Regions from separate parts of the Homo sapiens genome. Here region 2 is linked to region 1. The links are contacts of gene promoters, found by promoter capture Hi-C in human tissues and cell types (Jung and others, 2019). All regions are on one chromosome and are shown on one strand. Each heading gives the region's core, a stretch centred on a gene start or on the middle of the fragment in contact. The rest is flanking DNA. Distances are from core to core; before and after follow the strand shown.

What was found. Contacts are between HindIII fragments. The study calls those that stand out against the background at their distance.
Region 2: a fragment that was not itself captured here is called in contact with the fragment with the promoter of DGKI in region 1 in 4 of the 25 tissues and cell types used here (IMR-90 fibroblasts, aorta, neural progenitor cells and 1 more).

What each region holds. Positions count from the first base shown.
Region 1 is chr7:137,842,800-137,849,543 of GRCh38, reverse strand. DGKI (diacylglycerol kinase iota) reads left to right here and starts at 2,570. Exons shown (of 33, transcript NM_001321708.2): 1 at 2,570-3,082. The coding sequence starts at 2,682. RefSeq lists silencers at 1,767-2,061, 2,546-2,595 and an enhancer at 3,230-3,731. The HindIII fragment of the contact is 10,065 bases long and covers 1-6,744 here.
Region 2 is chr7:137,734,418-137,740,787 of GRCh38, reverse strand. The region is part of intron 1 of DGKI (diacylglycerol kinase iota); the gene reads left to right. Among named protein-coding and RNA genes, the nearest start is that of DGKI, 110 kb to the left of the region's middle. The HindIII fragment of the contact is 4,900 bases long and covers 1,331-6,230 here.

The DNA of each region.
Region 1 (6,744 bases), core at 1,321-3,820:
CATAAATGATAGCATACTACTAAATACTCTGAGCATTGTTTTTCTTTTTTTGTTAACATTATATATTTGAGATTGTTTTATATTAATGAATGTTAACTTGCCTTATGTATCTTGACAGTTCCAGAGAATTCCATTGTTTGGATGAATAACAATTTAGGTTGTTTTCAATCTTAAATCCTTGTGTATACCTACAAGTATATCAGAGGACGAATTTTTAGAAGTGAAATTGCTTAGTTAATTAGGTCATGCATTTCAAACATGGATAGATATTGTAAAATTTACCATCAGAGAGATTTTACTAGTTAAAGTATATCAAAAATTTGAGGAAGCATTTGTTTTCATACCCCCTCATCAATACCATCTATTATCAAACTGTTTGTTCTGAAAAATGACGTCTTTCATTATGTTCACAACGATGTATATTTCTTTTCTCAGTCAATAAACACTTCATGATGGTCTATGATATACACACTTATGCAATTATGTTACCTGTTTATTATTACTGAAGATATAGTGATAAACAACATATAGCGTTTATATACATGTGGGATAAATAGACACATGACAGTTGCAGTGGTCCAAGTTTAGTACAATGGTGCAATGGGAGCTATGGGAGGTACGTCCATCACAGTCTAGAAAGGGATCATCAACGGAGGCTTCTAGTGGGGAGAAACATGGGGAGAGACATGTAAACTAAAATCCGATGGAGGTGTAGAGTAGTTGGCTTGGCAAATCTTAGGAAAAGGAGAAGCAAAGAAGAGGAGACAGCAGACTCACACGTGCAAAAATGGGAATGGAGAGAGCAGAGAGCGTGTGGGGTTTGCACAAAGAACAGTTCAGAACCTCACTGTCATGACAGTATGAAGGGAAAGCGGGCAGTACTCCACCACCCACCAATGTAGCCCTCAAAATCAGCTGAGTTGTTTGAACTTTACCCTAACGGCAATATGACATAATCAAAAGATTTTTAAGTGGAGGCGTGAAAAATCAGAAGTATTTTGGGGCTCACACTTGAGATTGGATTGGGGAAGATACGGCTAAAAGTAAGTGGGAGTAATGAGGGGGCTGTCCCAGTAATTGGGTTCAGATGACATTTGCTTGATTTTAGGGATGTACGAGATATTCGTGGATCTTGTGTTGAAGCACCTAATACACGATGTCCCTTCTGAAGACGGGTGCATTAAACTGGGGTGAAGCACAAAGGCCACTGAGCAGCCTGGCTTGACTCCTGGCTTTGCCAGTTTGCATTTGCACGTGTCCAAGCCCTTGAGAGGTGCTGTGAAAACATAGAGGTGGATGAGGGAAGTGCTTATACAGCACATACCGTATAAAAAGAGGGCTTCATACTTGCTAGTTGTTTTAATTTTTATTATTACTTTTCCTCGCTGCACATGGAAATGTCTTTACCTTTGTCTTATTATAAGGTACATACGAGGAGAGTTACAGAACATGGGTGTTAGAAGAGATTTGACATATCTGTTCATTTTCCTAATTTTAGTGATGAGAAAATAAAGGGAAAGAAAGCAATTTAGATTTTTGCCAGTATTACAATTCTTTGTTCACGGGCACACCACGCCAGCCTGAAACTGTTCATTGGTCTGGTTCTCTTACCACCTCGTATATGTAGGTTTATAGTTTGGTTACGAACACCACCTTGTCTTAACCATAGATAGTTCCTGTGTTTGCCGACAGCAGCGATTTCTTGTGTGGAAACCCCTAATTTGGGAAACAATCTGTTTTAAACACTTTGTAGCACATCACTCAAACCGCACAGTTTTCGATAATCTTAGAAACAAAAACTGGGGTTGAGGCGGACAGTTAAATTCTGCAGACACCACAAGCTTGGATTCGTTTCAGCAGTCGGTCCTAAGTGGTTTGAAGCCCCTTCCGGGATGCCTCTTCTTATACGAACAACGCAGCGGCGCCAGGCGCCAGGGTCCTCACTTCTGCCTCCTGGATTTCCTCCGCCTTTCTGCTTCACCGAGGGCCCTGTGATCCGATTCCATCGAATTAACCGCTGTTTACCGAGGGTCTGCTGCGCCTAAGGAAGGCACCGGGCGACGAGCAAGGCGGGGACGCAGTTTGGGGACGCAGGGGTCCGGGCCCCAGTCCAGAGACAGGAGGTCGGCGCTTCGACTTGGCACCCGCCGACGAATTCACTCCAAGGTTCCCACTGGCGGAGCTCCTGCTACCTCCCCCCTCCCCTAAATGCAGCTCCCGCTACCTTCCCGCGCCCAGGGGCTGCTGCCTGAGCCCAGCTCTGCTCACTGGAGGGCGGCGGTGGAGAGGGTGCTGGCCCAGCGTCGGCAGCTGGGCTCAGGACCAAGGTGGGCGCCCGCCGGTCCTGGTCCCCCCAGCCTCACGGTGCAGGACCCAGGGCGCGGCCACTCGAGTTCCCCGGACGCTCTCCTTCCTGATGCTCGCTGTCCCTGCCCTGGCGTCCCCAGCCCGGGGTCGCAGCCTGTCCTCCTCTCTCTCCCCCTCCGCCGCAGCCCGTCGCCTCCGGGCAGAGTTCATGTTCAGCTTGGGCTTTCGCTCGGGATTTAGGAAGAGGCCGGCGGGGCTGGAGGGTGCGGGCCGGCGCGGGAGGGCGCGGGAGGCGGGGAGCGGCGGCCTCTGATTGGCCGGGGCGGGGGAGTGAGCGGAGTTTCCCACAATGCCCCGGTGCGGTGCAGCCGCGGATGGATGCTGCGGGAAGGGGCTGCCATTTGCTGCCCCTGCCAGCGGCGCGCGGACCTGCCCGCGCTCCTGCAGCCGCCGCCGCCGCCGCCGCCAGCCCGCCCGGCCCCTGCAGCGGCGCCGCCTGCGCTCCCTCCGCGGCCGCCGGAGCGGGCGCCATGAACCCCAGCTCCTCGGCGGGAGAGGAGAAAGGGGCGACGGGCGGCAGCAGCAGCAGCGGAAGCGGCGCCGGGAGCTGCTGCCTGGGCGCCGAGGGCGGCGCGGACCCGCGGGGCGCAGGGTCAGCCGCGGCGGCGGGGGCCGCTGCCCTGGACGAGCCCGCGGCCGCCGGCCAGAAGGAGAAGGACGAAGCGCTGGAGGAGAAGCTGAGGAACTTAACTTTCCGGAAGCAGGTCTCGTACAGGTAGGTGCGGGGAGCCGGCAGCCGAGACAGGTGCGCCGCGGCGGGAGACCCACTCTTCTACCCAGCAAGGGGCGCTTCCGCGGAGTTGGGCACCTCTCTGTTTCCACGCCTCTCCTTCCCCCTTTCCCCCTCTCCTCCCGGGGATGTCTGTCTTCTCCCCATCCTATCATTCCAGGCTGGAGGGCAGCAACGCCTGCTTTCCCCTGTGGCAGGAGAGAAGCACTGGGTCCCTAAGGTCAGAGCAACAGAAATTTTGTCTGTGTGTGTGTGTGTGTGTGTGTGTGTGTGTGTGTGTGTGTGAGAGAGAGAGAGAGAGAGAGAGAGAGAAAGAGAGAGAGAGAAAGGGTTGCAGACTCAGTGATGCTTAGTTTTCTTAAGAGAAGTCGTCAAAGTTGCCCCTAAGCAGGTGTCATCTTCAACCACCCTTCCCCCACCTTCCAGATTTCGCTGGATGAACCTTTGGCACTAACTTGACAGCTGAGATCACTCCGACAGGCAGAAAAGAATAGCACTACACTGAAGAGAAATCCTTATGGAAGTTGGACCTGCCTCGAAATCCCCCATGAAGGAAGAGTGGGTTTATGTCTGTAGATGCGCCACTGGTTATGGGGGCTCCATGCCTGCGTGCTCCTTGCCTCTCTCCTGGCTGGAGGAGGGTGTGGGGAGCCCGCTGGCAAGCTAGGGGTGAAGGTGAGAGTGGGGACCATATTTGCACCTAAGGATGAGTGTATGTGTAAGACAAGGACAGTGTGGGATCAATGGCCTTTAAATTAGGATAAAAGATAACCCCACATTGTATTAGAATCCAACAACGAGGAATTAGGATTTATTAAGGTCTCTCTCACCCCTCCCTTCCGCAGGCAAGAATAAAGACATTGACAGGTTTGGAGAGTTGTTGACACTAACCCTACTGCTTATCGATGTTAAAGGTCGAGGTGATATGCAAGCATAGGTTTACAAAGATGTACACTTGCTGGAGCTCAGAGGGTTTCTGGAAAAGGGGTCAGTGAAAACATTCTTGTAACCCTACTCTTTCTGAGTTAGTGTTCCCTTCCCAAAAACCATATAAAGTATTAAGCCTGTCACACCATGTGCTGTTATGTAAGCAAACGCAGATGACAGAGGTGTGTGGGTTTGGGAGGGTGTGTTTTATTTATGGGGGCAGGTGTGTGAATAATTGGGATCCCCATAGACATCGCCTGGCCTGGAGGCCACAGTCACTAGGGCATGTGCTCTGTGTCTAAGTGTTGACTTCTGATGACTCCTAAAACGCCTTCCTGGTGAGGTTGTTGCTTCTGCGTTCCTCCCATGCATTTTGTTCGCTGTGCGCTGAGGGAGTTCCCCACCTGAGTTGTTCTCTTAGTTACTCACACAGATCAGGTCCAAATGGATCTTTCTTTTTATACTTTGGTTTCTAAAAATAGACAGATGGTGGGGAGGGGGTAGCTCTAGGGAGGTATGCTAGGACACTGGCAGTTCTACTTCCTAGTTATGATGGCCCGTCTGGCCCCTGGGGGAACAGGGACTACATTCAGCCTAATTTAGGAGCTGTGAGTTGGAAGGGGGTGGTGATTACATGAAGCACAGTGTAGGCTGCTCCTGGCTTATTGGTATTCATCAGAGTCCTCACTGGGTAGGAAGACAAAGCCAGAGTTTGCAAGGGAAATCATTTCAGCTTGCCTCTTGTCAGGGGTCATTCTCTGAGCCTCCTTTTTTAAAATGTATGTTGTGTGGGGTTTTGGCTTTCTGAGTTGCATGCTCACACATGCACGTGTAAGTGTGTACACACACAAGCATAGACATGGACACAGACGCAGCATGTTTCTATAGAAGAATAATAACATTGCGTCTGCTTTACAATCCTTACATAGAGGTGGATTCTACTTCGTGAACATCATTTCCTTTTAAATAAAGCTTTACAGTCTCCAATTCCTGCATCAGTGTCACCTCAGGTGTCTGGTTAAAAGTGCTCACCACCCTAGACTTGCAGAATCAAACTGTCTGTGGGTGAGAATTTTTAACACGCTCCTCAGGCGATGTTTATGCAGACTAATATATGGGGATTGCCACCCTATTTTGCCCCCAAGACTAAACAATTGATCTTTGAACTCATAAACCCTCCCCATCCAAACCAGGCCAGTCAGTCTCAAAGTCAGAGGAAAGATGGTGAAAAGGAGGTGCTTCCATCTGGAGCATGTTTGTGCCTGGGTAACAGGAAATTGTCTCCATTTTGATCACTGTTACTTATTTGTTTTGGAGTAATGGTGAATGGCCTGCCCACTCGTCATGGCGGCCATTGGTGCTGGACTCCTGCAGCAGGGCTGGCTGTTTTACTGTGGGATGGATGAAGGGTGTGTAAAAAAAGAGCAGGTTTGTCAGGAGCTGAGGGTCGGCTCCTTGGTGGGGACCACACCACCTCCCTTCTGGGGGCACCTGAGGACAGTGTCTGGTGGGAGCTTATGGAGAGGAGGCAGGAAGACCTCACAGAATGGAGTCTGAGTGAAAGGACTGAGTTAGGGTATGGAGCATGGCTGCTTGCGTGAGGGGGATCATTTGAGGTGGAGGAGTGGAGATTTGCAGGTAGGCAAAAAATATCTTTTGAAGAACATGTGTATTTTTGGAATGAAACTTGACAGGCAAAAAGAAGGGGGCTTTGGGAGAGAGGGTGTGTGTGTGTGTGTGTGTGTGTGTGTGTGTGTGTGTGTAGGGGGGTCTCATCTGCTCCTTCTGTTGCTAAGGAACATATAAGCTAGGGTTTAAAAATAAATGAGGAGTGGGTGGGCATATGCAGTGACTCCTGTCTTTTTAGGAACCAGAGCCCTTTACAAAAAGCCTTTAAATAACCATTTCTGGAGGCAGATTATTCATTTTGCTTGACTTTTACTTTGTTAAGTAAAATAAACTGCTTTCTGTACTCCTAGATTTCCCCTCATTATCTATTCTGTGTTGGCTTTTTTTGAGAACCATTTTTCCCATGAGAATTTTTTCCTTTATTTCAGAATCTGCACCCCTAGAGCAAATAGTCTCTGTCGACTGTAAAGCTGAAGGTTTGAAAAGGCAGTGCGAGTGAGCTGGTACTTTTCTTTTAAAATTACTACTTCGTTTTTCTTTGCAAATTATGGTGCTGCAACAGATACATATGTGTAAATGACTATATACTGTGTAGGAACTGTTTTTTTTTTTAAACTGCTGTAAGAATTCCCATATAAGTCAGTACAATAAAAAAAAAAAGACTTCAGAAACACATAAGGGAGGGGAAGGAGAAGGTAGCTGATGTTTATTGTCTTCTATGCAACAGGCACTGGGCTAAGCCTTATTGTATATTCTGTCTTAATTAATCTTTGTGACAGTCCTGTGATGTGACTATGACTATTTCCATTTTATTGAAAATGAACTTGAGGCATAGAGCTTGGGCAGGAGGCAGAATTTAAAACACAGATGACTCCAAAGGACTGTCTCTTTAGACCGCATCACGCTGCTTCCCTAAACATTTATTTTAGGCTTGAGCTCTCTGTCCATGTGTGCATATGTGTATGCATGCGTGTGTGCAGTGTGAGTTATCTTCCCCCTCATCTGTAATACACGGCAGGTCATTACATATTATTATTATTATATATTATTGCATACCTTTTTTTGGCTTGTGGCCCTTTGTCTATATAATT
Region 2 (6,370 bases), core at 2,531-5,030, 110 kb after region 1:
GATGGTTATTTTAAATTATAGTCATGTGCTGAGCATTATGTCACCAGCAAATCATAGCCGTTTTCCAGAGATATTTCCCTGGTTAAATATTCACATGACATTTGAACATACTGAACAGCCAAGCATGTTGCTTAGTTGTTATGGTTGTTTTTGTGCGGGGATATCGGGTAGGGGAGGGGATTAAAAGTATTGGGCTGGTCTGGCTAATTTCTAGTCTCCATTTCTTGCAGACGACCTCTGATTCTCTGGTTTTGAAGTAGGGAAGTGTGACTGTGGTGAATCCCAAGAAACAGCTTGATAGCTTTACACCATACACCTGCCATTGCTGACATACTTTGGAGGGGACTGAAGTGGAGATGCAAAGCAGTCAGGCTGTAGGCCCCAGGGAGCTTATGAATCTGACCTCAGGGGTCCTCCCTGTAGAGATTCCTCACACCAAACATCTGAACTCATGTCAGGCAGTACTGTTTTAACCTCACTTTTTGCCCAGAATGATGGGAATAAAATCAAAATTGACAGACAGAGGAAGCTGGTCTTTCCTCCAGAATTGATAAACCAAGATACTTTAAACTTATTCCCAAGAATGTGGATTTCTGCATGTATGTATCTCTTCAAGGTTGCATAAATGGAATTTGTGCTTCAATTTGTCAGAATCCTGAATTTCCAAATCCTGATGTAAGGATTTAAGTAGGAGAGATACCTGGATTTGAATTGTTGTGAAATACAGTGGTAGGTTGACTAGCTTTATTCCAACAGAGTGAGGTTGATAGTCTTTGTTGCCATGAGATGCTTCACCTTTTCCCCTACCAACCTTCAAAGACATGGTGGAGCGGAATCACTGGGCAACACCAGTGGGAATAGTTCAACCAACAGTAGTTCTCACTTAGCAGAGACAGACCTCAGGTTCAACCTTTTCTTGACTGCCATTTCGATTCTGCAAGTGGCAAAAATAAACTGGAAAGTGGATGATCACTCTCATATGCTCTATTGACAAATAAGAAAAACAGGGACCAAAAACAACTTTCTCTGGGCAGTCTGGGGAATAAAAGCTGCTGGGAGGATCTAGTGTACACATGCGTGTAGCACTTTTTACATTCGCTAAACCCTTTTATAGTTACTCTGTCATTGGCCATTCTGACTATGTTGTGTGCAGGGCAAATGAGTTTTGTTCTTCCCATTGGAGAAAGGCTATCTAAGGAAGACCCATGGGAAATTAGCAAGTAAGCCAGGGCTGGAGTTCCCAGAGAGGCCCTGCATGAGGTCCCATAGGAAGCCGCTAGGATCTCGAGGTCTAGTCGTTATTTTTCCTCTTTGGCAGATTACACCGTAACTCTGAAAGAGCCAGGGAAGCCTAGGTTGTTTGTTCTTTAGAGTTTTTAACATGGAAGGAGGTTTAGAATTTATTTTGCCCGTCTTTTCATTTTAGAGATGAGGAAAATGAGACCCAGGGAGATGTGATTTCACAGGTCAAATAGTCCTATGACACTGGGTAGACAATAGGATACCTGATGTGAATGTTGAAAAATGTGCCGTAGGAGAAAACAGCCCTTTAGGCACTTGACTTGGCAAGCTGAGGTTACTTGGTGCAAAGGAAGAGATGCCCTTCTTTCAGGTGGATGTAGATCCATGCTGAGACACGTGGCTCAGAGTGCTGAGCATGGGCTGGATTTCAGCTCCTGATCCCTCTATTTTCAGTCCACAAACTGCATACTCTGTGAAGTGGCTCTGCATGGTTTTGCTGGTTCACTTAAAACATATTTGGATAAAAAACATGACTGAATGAGGGAGTCAGCTTTTCATTAGGTAGAGGAGGTGTCCATATGTCTAGTAATTGCCCTCATTTGGCACAAATCAACGAGACCTGAGGGATGAGGGATGAATCTGTGTCTTCTTTTTTATGGTTATGGGCATGAACAGTTAGGATGAAACCAGACCTGCGTGTTCTGGTTTGGCTGATGATGGATACTTTCAAAATTGTATCAAAGAAAATAGACAATGGAAGTCTGGCAGACTTTACAATGAGTATCTAGTAAATCGGATATGAAAAGGAAAGGGGGGGGGGGAACCTCATCTTCTCTGTGAATTTCTAAAAAAGTGTTCACATAAGACAGGGCTAGATAGTTTGAAGGATATTTTCCAAGCCCAAAACTGTACAAGAGGAAGTTTTCTCTGGGAGCTGGAATTTGAATGGACAAAGTCAGGTTGGTCTCAGTGGTTAATGCTTAAAGTTTATAAACACATCTTTTTGTTTTTAGCACATCCTACAAATGCAGTTTATTAATATGGCATTTTATATTGAAAGGTAAATATCACCATACCATTGTGAATAATTCTTTGGTAGTGAAAATAGCCCTATCTTACAGTGACTAGATCCTTCTTATAAATGCTCTTCAGGTAGCCCAAAGTTCTCCTTTGTATAACCCATTATAATTAGATTATACATATAATTGTGTAGAGGTATGTATTTAATATGTGTCTCTCCTAGTAGCTTGGAGTCAGTATAGCACAGCAGCTAAGGGTCCAGCCCTCGAGATCTGCTTTCAAATTCTACTTTTGTCACTTAGTATCTACATTACACCGATTAACTTAATCAGTGTCATGTGGTCCTGCTAACTGCATTAATTTGTCTGTATTTCATTCCGCATCTACAAAATGGTAATAAACATAGGACATATTTTATAGGGCTATATATTGAATGTATTAAATGAGAAAATCCTTGAGTATTGCTTAGCACTGTGCCTAGAACATGAAAACTCTTAATAAAGCTTGGCTATTAGTCTTGCTAAACGGTAAAGACTGTTTCTGTCTTATCCCTTGTGTTATCCCCAGTTCTTTGCACAGAACTTGTGGCACGCAGATTAATCATAGAAATTATTGAATAAATTAATGGTCCCATTTTTTTCCTAGCTCCACTGTGGTGAAGTCTCAGATTCCCAAGGATGTGGTTGTGTGCAGATAGGTTCCATGTGGCCAGGGCTCTTGTTCAGTTTAGTGTATTTATTCTGCCACACTTTGCTTAATTCCAGATTGATTTGCTTTTATATGAAGATAGTAATATATGGGAGGCATTGATTCTTAGCTTCTTAAAAACTGACAGCTAATGTTTAGAGGCATTTCAAAATACAGTATCTAAATAATATGTAGGGAAACAGGAGATGTAATTTGGGTTGATAGGAAATGCCTTGGGCTCAAGTAAGAGGTTCTGGGTTCCATTCCGAAGTCTATCAGAGATGAGCTTTCATGTCACCTGCTTAAACTTAACTTTTTTTTTTTTTAATAAAACGAAGGGACTAAAGTCCATTATCATCAAGGTTTTTGCTTGTGTTTGTATTTTATGACAGTAAGATGTTAGTTACTTTTATTAATTCCTTAAATGCATGGAACAGATTTGCCTTTATATTATGAATAGAATGCAGATTCAATTTCTGCAAATAATGTTTCTTTGTATTCCAGGGAAACTTGCTGTTGAAAGTTCTCCTTCCATGAGTATTTCTTGTAAATCAAGAATCTTTTCTAATACAAATAGTTATCTCATGTTTCTGCTTTGAAAATTTGTATGTATTTTTTTTTTTTTTTTTTTTTTGGTGAAATGAGGCATATTTGAATGCTTTGAAGTAAAACTAATACCATTTAGTGAGTATGCACAGACCCAGCATAGGGAACTAAGTATTTCAATGTTTATGATTTTAAAACACTGTCATATTTCGTGCTGTCCAATCACGTTTAGCTTTAATAGTTTTCCGTCCAATTTTTCGGAACCCACCAGACTTGATTTTTAAGAGTTAGTTCAAAGATTGCCCAAACTTTGATTCAATCTGGCTTATAAGAGATAACAAAGATTATTATTTAAAGCCACAGTCATTAGTGATATGAGGGTAGATATGAAAAAGAAAAACTGAATAGACTGCTTATCTCTTACTGTGATCTGTATGACCTCTGATTAATTTAATCATGGTTCTGTATCTAATGTTGAGGGCCTGCAACAAGGTCTTGATTGACAAAATCTATTTTCTCTTCATACTCATTCAGGCTTCTTGGAAGCTAGGGGTTTCTGATTAAATTATGCTATTTTTGTAACCCACAGAAGATCCCATATGGTCAATTTCAAGTTCCCGTTACTTTCAGTATTTTTCCTAGATGTTATTTCACTTAGGACAAACAGGATGCAATTTGTGGGGTGGTTGTTTGACCTTCTCGTATTAAAAGGTTGTAAGTGTTGTCTCTTTCAGCTGCCCATTTTAGAAGTTAAATTTATTGATTGCTGAGCACTTTAGTGCATTCTCTCATTTATTCTTCACAGCAACGTGAAGAGGTAAGGTCTGCTATTAATCCCATTTTGCCTTTGCAAAATAAGCCATAGAGGAGCTAAATAATTTGCCCACTGTCACACGGTAAGAGGTTGAGCCATGTCTGAAATTCAGGTTTATTTGGCTCCAGAACCCCTACATTAGCCTTACAATAAGATGCCTCGTGCAACCTAGCTTGATGGAGATTGCATGCTAAATATATTTTAATACTGGAAATGGTTTACTGATGTTTCCAGCATTCATAATGATCAGGTTGCAAAATCTGTTTGGACATTTATTAAGAGATTGGAACCAAATTAATGACATCTTCTCTGAAATTTCTCTTGGCTTATCTTAGGAGAAATTAGAATGAACTGAAGCAGGGAAGGATAGGAAAGAGCTATGTGAAAAATTAAACACTGTGTTTACCAATGTTGAGTGGCTTTCTACACAACATGTGTGATCTGTGTGTGGGGCCCTGTGTCCAGTGCTCAGGTTATGGTCCTACTGTCATTTTCAGCCACTGTTCATTGATGTACACTCACTGTTCAGGGTAGTAGAGTCCACAAAAGCATGCAATGTCACTGACATAGCGGACGGTAGCTAGCACAGGCGTTTAGTGTGGCCATGAGCCTCAGCTCTTGCTCCTATAATTTCATTTCTCAGGAATTGTTGTTCTTCCCTGTTGCTGGGTCTTGGTAGGGTCTGCTCTGGTCTATCCTAATCGGTGTGCTTAACTTTACATTTGGAGTACTAAGAGTTGAGGTTTTGCTTCCTTTCTTCCCAGAATTGCTTTGGAATCCTTATGCAGTTTGCTCTGCTTTCTTTGTAGTGACCAAGTTTATATACTGGCACTTCTGAATCCCAAGAAAATGACTTGCTATTCAATTGACATTTCAAAATCTAAGATGGTACCCTTGCAACCAAGAAAATATAATTTATTTTATAAAAGAAAAAACCCGTCTACCTCATCATATGCATCAGATATACAACTAAACTGTGGTAAATGCTTGTACACCAGTATCTTCAGGGTCCTGGGGAGCACAAAAAGGGCTACTTGGCCAAATATGACAGATGATTCCTGATTTGACTCTTGGGGGATAAGTAAAATCTAACCAGATAGAGAAAGGTGGAAAGAGTATTCAAGCAAAAGCACAGGATGAACAAAAGAAGGAAGCAATGAATTGATGATTAGTAAAGCAAAAGCAAAATAGATTAGCGTTGCTAAAACAAAAGTATGAGGCAGAGGGTAGCAAAAGATAAGTTTGAACATATAGGTAGAAGCCCTAAAATGCAATGCCAAGGAGACTGGAATTTATTTTAGGTTACAGGGCACCCCTAAAGGGTGTTAAATGGGACAGACGTGTTTTTCACACAGATGAGTCTAATTTCAGCATAAAAGATGGATTTCAGGGCCAGTAGCTAGAGTGGAAACAGGGAAATCAGTGAAGAGATGTTAACATGGTACCAATGTGAAATGAGAAAGGAGCCACCCAGGGTAATGGTAATAGGGATGCAGAAGATTTTTCAATTATATAGAAGGGCAAATTGACAAGCCATCATGATCAGCGGTGATGTGTAAAGGAGAGGGAGTAGTTGACAAATATTTATTGATCACGCACTCTGTGCCAGGCACTTTAAAGGTCATGAGTCACAGAAGTCTGGATTTCTAAAAATCTACAGAATGACTGCAAGGTCTCTCATTGTGAATTCATTCTCTGTTGCTGCATTGGAAATTGCCCTAAAGCTTAGTGGCTAGAAATAATATTTATTATCTCACAGATTTGTGGGTCAGGAATATAGGAGTAGCTGAGCTCAGGGTCTCTGGCTCAAGGTTTCTCTTGAGGTAGCAGTCAATTTGTTGGCTGGGCTGCCATCATCTCAAAACTTACCTGGGTTTGAAGAATCTGCTTCGAAGGTGGATATAGGTCCCTAGTCACAGGGGCCTCTCTGCAGAGCCACTTAACAAGAAGGCAGCTGGTTCTCCCCAGTGGAAGCACTCTAAAAGATATGACGAAGAGCACACACGTCAGAAACTGAAGTCTTTTAAAATCTTCATCTTGGAAATGACGTCACCAGCCACT